Linked DNA regions of Homo sapiens: all the other regions are linked to region 2. The links are contacts of gene promoters, found by promoter capture Hi-C in human tissues and cell types (Jung and others, 2019). All regions are on one chromosome and are shown on one strand. The core of a region is centred on a gene start or on the middle of the fragment in contact, and the rest is flanking DNA. Distances in the headings are between cores, read along the strand shown.

The links. Contacts are between HindIII fragments. The study calls those that stand out against the background at their distance.
Region 1: a contact is called between a fragment that was not itself captured here and the fragment with the promoter of FSTL5 in region 2, in 3 of the 25 tissues and cell types used here (aorta, hippocampus and pancreas).
Region 3: a contact is called between a fragment that was not itself captured here and the fragment with the promoter of FSTL5 in region 2, in 1 of the 25 tissues and cell types used here (hippocampus).

Annotation. Positions count from the first base shown.
Region 1 is chr4:162,198,737-162,201,468 of GRCh38, forward strand. No RefSeq gene overlaps it. Among named protein-coding and RNA genes, the nearest start is that of FSTL5, 36 kb to the left of the region's middle. The HindIII fragment of the contact is 4,012 bases long and covers 1-2,732 here.
Region 2 is chr4:162,162,666-162,165,565 of GRCh38, forward strand. FSTL5 (follistatin like 5) reads right to left here and starts at 1,335. Exons shown (of 16, transcript NM_020116.5): 1 at 950-1,335. RefSeq lists an enhancer at 1,489-1,598. The HindIII fragment of the contact is 23,396 bases long and covers 1-2,900 here.
Region 3 is chr4:162,121,743-162,124,733 of GRCh38, forward strand. The region is part of intron 1 of FSTL5 (follistatin like 5); the gene reads right to left. Among named protein-coding and RNA genes, the nearest start is that of FSTL5, 41 kb to the right of the region's middle. The HindIII fragment of the contact is 3,838 bases long and covers 1-2,991 here.

The DNA of each region.
Region 1 (2,732 bases), core at 96-2,595, 36 kb after region 2:
TGCTTGTCTTCTAACTACTTAACCATCTAAAAACATGATGGATAATAATGTTTCTCTGGGTTTTGTTTTGTTTTTGTTTTTGTTTCTGGATATTTTTAAACCTTTTTGGAACCTTTCAATATATCATGATTGGTTTCTCATTATTTATTTTTCCAAAAATAATTATGAATGATGGCAAAATATTTTAAAGCTTTTGACACATATTACTTATTTGCTTTCCAAAAAAGAGATGACGGTGTACACTCTGACCAGTATTATTTAAGAGTATCATCACTGGTTTCTCTGCATTCTTATCAACATAACGACTTAAAATTTTCTTCCACTTGTGTAGGTAAAAACTGGTGTTTTTGTGCTACAATTTTCATTCCTTTGTTTACTAATAAGACTGAACATTATTTATGCTTACGGCTACTTAAAGTTTTTACTTTTCATGTGTTCTTTGTTTGTATCTTGGCATAAATGTATAATTTGGGATATAGTTTTTTGATAGGTTGTTAATAAATATCATGGAAATACATGAAAAAGAATAAATTTAGAAAATTGACCTAACAGATCAATGAAAAAATAGTTGAAATATAAAAAGGACTGAAATAGGTGAAAGTATTTTCCAACCTTGAAGTGTATGATGTGTTCAAGTATTCCAAATGAATTCACTGTGAAATATATGAGCGTTATTGGCCCTGGATAAAATGAAAAAGGTAGTTTGGGAAATGATTTGTTTTTGTCTTTGTTTTTGTTTTTTGAGACAGAGTCTTGCTCTGTCACCCAGTTTGGAGTGCAATGGCGTGATCTGGGCAGTATTACTGCCTCCCAGGTTCAAGTGATTCTCCTGCCTCAGTCTCCAGAGTAGCTGGGACTACAGGCATGCACCAACATGCCTGGCTAGTTTTTGTATATTTCATAGAGACGGGGTCTCACCATATTGGCCAGGCTGGTCTTGAACTCCTGACCTCAGGTGATCTGCCTGGCTTGGCCTCCCAAACTGATGGGATTACAGGCATGAGCCTGTAACCGTGCCAGGCCTGGGAACTGATTTTGAATGGCCATACATTGGATGCTATATATTAATTCACTGAAAAAGTGTAACCATTTAGTTTGCTTCCCCTTTGAATAGAAGACTGTTAAAAGAGGCTTTGTTATTCTGAAGCTTATATAATTTTTTATGTTCTAAGTTTGAAATTAAATTCAAGTTAAATGAAATTGTGCTTGACATTTCAAGCCTATCAGAACACAATGAGAACAAATATGAAATGTAGATTTATCCTCTAAGTGTAAATTTAGCTGTGATTTGGTCAAATTGCCAGAGAGGCAATATTATCCAGTGACAAGAGTACAGTTTTATGCCATTTTAAGATCTTTTTTAAATCCTTCTTTTACCACTTCCTATTTGTGTGATCTTAAGAAAGTTATATAAGGTTTGTGGCTGGAGAATAACCATCTAACACGGGTTTTCCTGTATTCTCACACCAACACCACAACAATCACCTACACAGAAGACTTCTATGACTAAATCCACGGGGGTTTCTCCCCACCATCAAGCAGTGCATGCCAGCTGGTTGTCCTCCAATTCAATGCTGGCACTATCGACCTGGAGATAGCATCAGATCTCACAGGTTGGGGGCTCAGTCCCCAAGACTGACTCCCACCCCACCTACGACACCAGTCTCAAATCAAGGCTTCTGGAACTTCTGACCAACTGACTTCAGGTTGAGGTTCCTACAACCCCCTCTTTGGGTTCGAATAATTTGCTGGAGCGGCTCACAGAGCCCAGGGAAACACTTACTTATGTTTACTGGCTTATTGTAAAGGATACTGCGAAGATACAGATGAAGAGATGTGTAGGGCAAAATATGGTGGAAAGGGTAGGGAGCTTCCTTGCCCTCCCTGGGTTCTCCCCACTCCAGGAGCAATCTGGAAGCTCTTCAAACCCAGTTTGTTTGGGTTTTTCTTTTATTCACTGCAATTTCTGCCTCCTGGGTTCAAGGGGTTCTCCTGCCTCAGGCTCCCGAATAGCTAGGGTTACAGACATGTGCCACCACCCCTAGCTAATTTTTGTAATTTTAGTAGAGATGGGATTTTACCATGTTGGCCAGGCTGATCTCAAACTCCTGACCTCAGGTGAGCTGCCCATCTTGGCCTTCCAAAGTGCTAGGATTACAGGCATGATCCACTGCGCCCGGCCTCGTTTGGGTTTTTATGGAAGCTTCATGACATTAGCATTCCTTACCCCCACCCCCTGGAGTATAAGGTGGGACTCTCTCTGGGAAGGGTCTTAAGACTCACAATCATAAAGGTGGAGAAAGATTAAAGTCCTGCCTTGGGTCAGGTGGAAGGATGGCAGGAGAGAGATTCTGTTTCCTGAAGCCTGCTCCTGAGGCCTAACACACCCAACATTATAACAAAATACTGTAAAGGGAGATGGGAGTTATGAACTAGGAACCCTGGATGAAAACCAACACATATCATAACACCACAGTCTGTAACCCAGACCGTGTCAAAGGTGCCTTCCAACTATTATATTCCATTCCACAGTAAATAAGTCAACCAATGTTTAACCTACACTGAATACATACTTGATAGATTTCGGAAAACTGATTTTTGTTTTTACTTTTGATTATAAATAGAGCTTTGCTTTATCTCCCAAATGGAGAAATAAACTTGTTTCCAAACCATATTCCAAACACCATGCAAAGTACATTGTTCAGCTAAAATGTATTAGCGCTGTTTGAGTA
Region 2 (2,900 bases), core at 85-2,584:
TCTCTGTACACACTCAGAACACACTGCCAATTGATAAAAGGAACATAGCTTCAAAAGAAAATTCTTCTAAGTAAAGAAAAGCTCTCTGTTAAGCATGCAAGAGGTTAAACATTGCTGAAATAGTGAGACATTTTCTCAGCCCACACTTCCCAGTTCCATTCAATTACCAACAGCACAAGCGACTATAATACAAGCGAATACTGTATTATTAAATCAGAACTTCCCATTTACATCCACCTCTAACCTGAGGGGGTTGCAAGGGGATGACATTTGCTAGTCAACAGCAGAACAAACAGCCCCCAACTTGGAAATACACATGACCTTGGGGTGTGGAATGCTCAGAGACTGAGTTTCACAAGTTTTATTTGGATCTACTGCATAACAACACATCTAAATGGACCCAGCATGATGTAAATGTTTCTATACCTACCTCCTCCCTTCCAAAAAATGTTAAGAGAGCTCTGCACTTTGAAGTCTATGCTTTAGATATAGGAATAATATTGATGATTAACCAGAGACTAGTCCATTCAAATAATTATTTGATTATATTTGTTCTAAACAACTTGTTGGTTGATTTATTTAACATCATTTGCTAATATATTTGGGGGGTTTCCTGGAATGGTTCCTATCCTTTGAACCCTGCTGAAAGTATTGCTCTAAAATATTTATATTTATAAAGCAAGATATAACATAATGACATCAACTTCACAAAAAGCAAAGCTCTCAACTTCCCCTCTAGAATTTAGTGCATAATCACTAACAGATTGTCTTGTAATAATAATAATAATAATAATAATAATAATAGTAATTATTAAAATATTTTTGTAATCATTGCCAAAAGTCCAGTTTCAAATTATAAAAATAAGCATAACTTGTTTTTAAATTTTTGTATGGCAGTCTGTATTTCTCCCCCACTTGTAATCATTTATAACAATATTATTTTTCTTACCTTATTTTAACAGTCACAAAAGTCCCCCAGAAAGATTCCTAAACGCTGTGGAAATATAAATCACAATAAAAAAAAAAAACTCTCAAAAGATCGTCTTAGCTGGGGAAAAAAAAATAGTTTGGTCTAAAACTATAGAAATCTCCAAAGTCACGCCTGAATGAGCGCCCAGGTGGCAAACAGAGGACTCTCTCCCACGTCCGATACCACACTCCTTTGTCAAGTTGATATGGGTCCTGTTGGTGAAGCGGGTCCCACAGGGCACAGAGGGTGCAAGAGGGCGTTGCCTTCAGGTGCTGGAGCAACTGGTCCGCTCGCGTCTCAGGTTCAGCACCGACAGCACAGTGGACAGTACCAGCTCCTTTCACCTCCAGTTTGTCTCAGTCACTGAACCAGGCTGATTCTCGCTCCTCCTCCCTAGGCAGGAGCTGCTGCCACTCAACCCGGGGGTGCCCCGCCCCCACCATCTGACGTAACTATTTTGCATATCAACTCGCCGAGAGGTGAGGGGCCGCCCCCTTGACTGGGCTTCTGCTAGAGTCAGCTGCGGCAATCGGGGCAACAAAATTCAGGCTTAACGTCAGCGTGGGCATCTTTGGACTTCAGGATGTATTCTCAACCAGTCCAGTAGAAACTAAACGCTTTGACGGTGCTGGAGCCTTTGCCTTCGCGGGGACTGCCGTTTCTGCGCACTCTAAGATCGCTGCGGGCACAGCTCTGGAAGGAAGACGGGGCGGAGAGAGGGGGCAGTGGAGCACGGAGAGGACCGAGTGGGAGGCGGGTGGGGAGGAGACGGAGAAATAGAATGAATCTATTCAACCATTCTTGAAAACATCTCCAATCCTTTTCATCTTCCTGCCCAAACTTTGCTGCCTCTCCCTGCCATTTGGTTATTTGAACGGATCCGTATTTGGTGTTCCTACTCCCTTCCCTCGGTTCACGGAGCCTCTGGAGGGAGTCGCTGCTGCAGAAACTTGCCTGGAAGAAAAAAAAAAAAATTCTGAGCACTGAGAGAAAACGTGAAAGCTTGCAGCGCTAACCATCATTTCTAAACAGAATCTTAAGGAAAAAAAATACGAGTGCTCCATAGTATATATTATACTTCATATGCGTTCCTATAAAACCTACAGAACCTTCCTTATTCATTCTCATGATTTAAACAAATCCTCAAACTGTATAGACTTGGAGATTCCAGAGGGAAAAAAATTAAATAATAAAAAGTGAAAGTTATCAGCTTCAACTTCCACTGCCAAAATTATGAAGGTTATGCAATATTTATTATGTCTACTATATCAATATTTCTATGAAAGATGGGCTATGCTGGAAGCTTTACATAGCCTTTAGCAATTCTCTCAGTATTTGTGATATTTCTTGTCCCAGTGAAGCTCTAGCCTCCTTGAAGGCAAGAGAAAGGGGGCCTGTCATGCCAAATTCCACAGACTGCTTAAACTTGTAAACAAACACTTTCAGTGAACTGAAGCAATCAATCATCCAGAAGGGTGATTATTCACATTCCATGCACATGTCCCACCTACAGCTATCATGACTTACTTGGACAGAGAAGTGGGTATCTAAAACTAAGCTTAAATTTTCTTAAGTTGGATAAAGCATGTTTAATAAAAAAGGTTGTTTATTCAAATAATGTCATAGCATTTCACACATTGCTTTCCATCAGAATGCATACACACTGATATGTGTCATCATATGCCAGGAGTCTGATATCATCTAGCACTGGATCCACTCACAAGCATTTTTCAGGGACTCTAATCAAAGGAATACACTTACTTATTTCCCCATCAGGAAAAATAATGCATTTTATTTTCTCTAATATTAAGAAGTTATTTGAGGAAGTCTATTTACTTTGTGGACCCATACCCCCAAACTGCTTCTTTCTAGTTACTTAAAAAAGAAGAAATAACAGAGGAAAAAACTATGGTGTTTTTGCTTGAGGGAA
Region 3 (2,991 bases), core at 447-2,946, 41 kb before region 2:
ACAAGACTGGTGTGAATTGCACGGTTCCATTTATACACAAATTTTCTTCTACCTCTGCTATCCTTGAGAAAGCAAAACCAACCTCTCTTCTTCTTCCTCCTCAGCCTACTCAACATAAAGATGATGCAGATGAAGACCTTTATAATGACTGACTTCCACTTAATGAATAGTAAATATATTTTTCTTCCTTATGGTTTTCTTAATAACATTTCTTTTCTCCAGTTTACTTTATTGTAAGAATATAACATATATTAACATAACATACAAAGTACCTGCTAATTGACTGTTTATGTTATAGGCAAGGCTTCTTCTGGTCAGTAGTAGGCTATTAATAGTTAAGTTTGGGGGGAGTCAAAAGTTATATTTGAATTTTATACTGTGCACGGGGTTGGCACCCTATACCCTGTGTCATTCAAGGGCTAACTTTATTTCTCAAAACTGTACCAATTCAGAAAAAGTACTTTTAATAGCAGCAACATACTATAGTAGAAAGAACAATAGGTTAAAAGTCAAAAGACATCATTCTACTTGTGGCTGGGCTCATAAACTGATTTTCTTAACACTTGCATTAACATTCTCAACCCACTGTTCCCCGCTTCTACCACTAACTAATCCACTTAAATTGTTTGCTTGGAGGTCACTACTGTACTTGATCTTTCCTCCCTTTAGTTTCAAACACAAACAATATTCTCATGATTTCACTTCATTTCCTAGTCATGGTCTTGTAGTTTCTTTTTCCACCTTCCTTTTCTCACCTGCTCTCTTAAAACTACAAGTTTGTTATGTTAAATTTCTGAAAACAGAAATAATCAGACTGACAATGTTGAATTTTTGTTTTTTTAAATTTATTTTCAATACTATCTTCAATAAAAATTTAAGGAACAACATCTGTATGTCATAGTAATATAAGCTGAAAGTTAAGAAAACATATTCTATTACTTCTCAAAGTAGGTAGCAAATGGATGTTATCATGCAAATTAAAACTTTTTCTCCTAAACACTCTTTATGTACTTTATTGCACATTTCATATGTGTGTGGCATAAAAGGCCTATTGCCTTACTTTGTACGTAAGCTACACCTAAGTTTGCGTAGTGTAATGTGGAAAAGTGATGTTTTAAAAGTTTGAAAATCATAATACATTATATGACCTTGAAGATCTTTCCCTGGTTCAAGAGAAGGGAAAATTATTATAGGCTCTGTCTTCTGAATTCATTGCCTTCTACCTTGATGAGCACTTAAAATGTAAATTAAGGAAGAATACAGCTCTTAGGACTGACTTTGCTTAAAATCCCAGAGGTACTATGTTACAGATTTTATTTGCTATTAAAAAAAATCATTGCAATTTTGTCAATGTCAGACAGATTTTAAATTCAACCTATTCCATACCAAGGTCTCCAGCAGCCTGTGTTCTTTAAATCTGGACCTACATTTATTGTACAAGAAAAAAAAATCTGTTACAGTTTAACAATGAAGTGCTGCACAGGGAACAACTTAATTTCCTCTGTATTTAAAACTGAAATGCCACGGGGAAAACTTGCCCATTCATAGGGGTCAGCTAAGTTTCAGAGGAATTCTAGTTCATTCTCAGAATACTGTGGAGAGTCTGAGAATAGTCCACAGTTAGTAGAAGTAATTAAGACCCAAGATATTTTCCAGAGAGATCCCAGAAAGAGAGATGTGGCCATCCTGGTGTGCAGGGGAAAGAGGGAAGATAGGTTAATGCTTAGTTGCACTATAAAGATTCTCACAAAGTTTCTCAGAATCAAAGTCTCCATGTTTTCTTAGAAAATATGGAAAGTGGAGAGTAAACTATCCTTGTAGATGAACGTTTGCTCACTCAACTGAAGACTTGAGGACATTCCTAGTGGTTTAACCAAAACAGACAAGAAGAGCTGAAACCCTGCAAGAAAACTCTAAAGCTACTGGAACTATTTCATCTGGTTATGTGGTCAATCATAGCCAGTGGTCAGAACCCAAGTCATGAGCAAATAATACTGCAGAAATTGAGTTTGTTTTCAGCAAGAGACATATAACTTACATTTTATTTTGGACCAGTGTCTCAAGTTTGAAAAAGAGGCAACAGGTAAAAGATTTTTTTTTAACTAAATTGTATCAGATTTTGAAAGAAAAAAAAAAACTGAAGAAAGGTGAAAAGAAAGCAGCAACATAGTGTTTTATAATATAACAGTAAAAAGTGCTTATTGGATATATAATGTGTTCCAGGCACAGTTACACCATGAGCTTTCAAATTCTTGATAATCTGTCAACAAAAAATACACTAATCTAGGTAGAGTATTCAGATGAGTTCAGAAAATATATCCATAACAACACTTAAAATTATATGTCTTATGTCTTTTGAAGTAAATGCTTTTAACAGATAATAAAGACAATACATTGGTACTAGTATGATATCTGAGAAGCTTACACAAGTGAACTTTTGAAATGACGCCTCTAATTAAATTTAGAGATAGCTATTACATTGAATTTAAGAAACACAGAATTAGAATTTATATGCAACTCCATCAAGATGCTGTTTCTAGACTGAGGGTAGGTGTAAAAAATTTAGTAGTATCATCCAACCCATTTATGGCCTGCTTCAGAACCCTTGTAATTCTGTAAAATCCACACAGTAAGCCTGACCACCAGTAATTTTTAGCAACTTTCTTTCTCCATTCTCTCCTCTTCTCTAGGTAATGAATATAAAATTCCCAGTATAACTGGTTGGGCCCAGATTGATAGTGAAGTGTACCTCCCTTCCTCTGTTCTTAAAGGACTAGAACCGGAAAGCATAATGGCTTCTTCTGGGCAGAGGATGAGATAGATAAAAGTCTCTTTAATGAGATAATCTATTGAAAAATGAGCCCTTGAACAGCCAGAGAGCAGCCAAAATAATACTGAACGCTGGCTGGAGACTCTATCAAAACATACTCAAAAGCTTCTTTTAGGTCACTCCTTTTTTTGTTTGTTTTTTTTCTGAGACAGAGTCTCGCT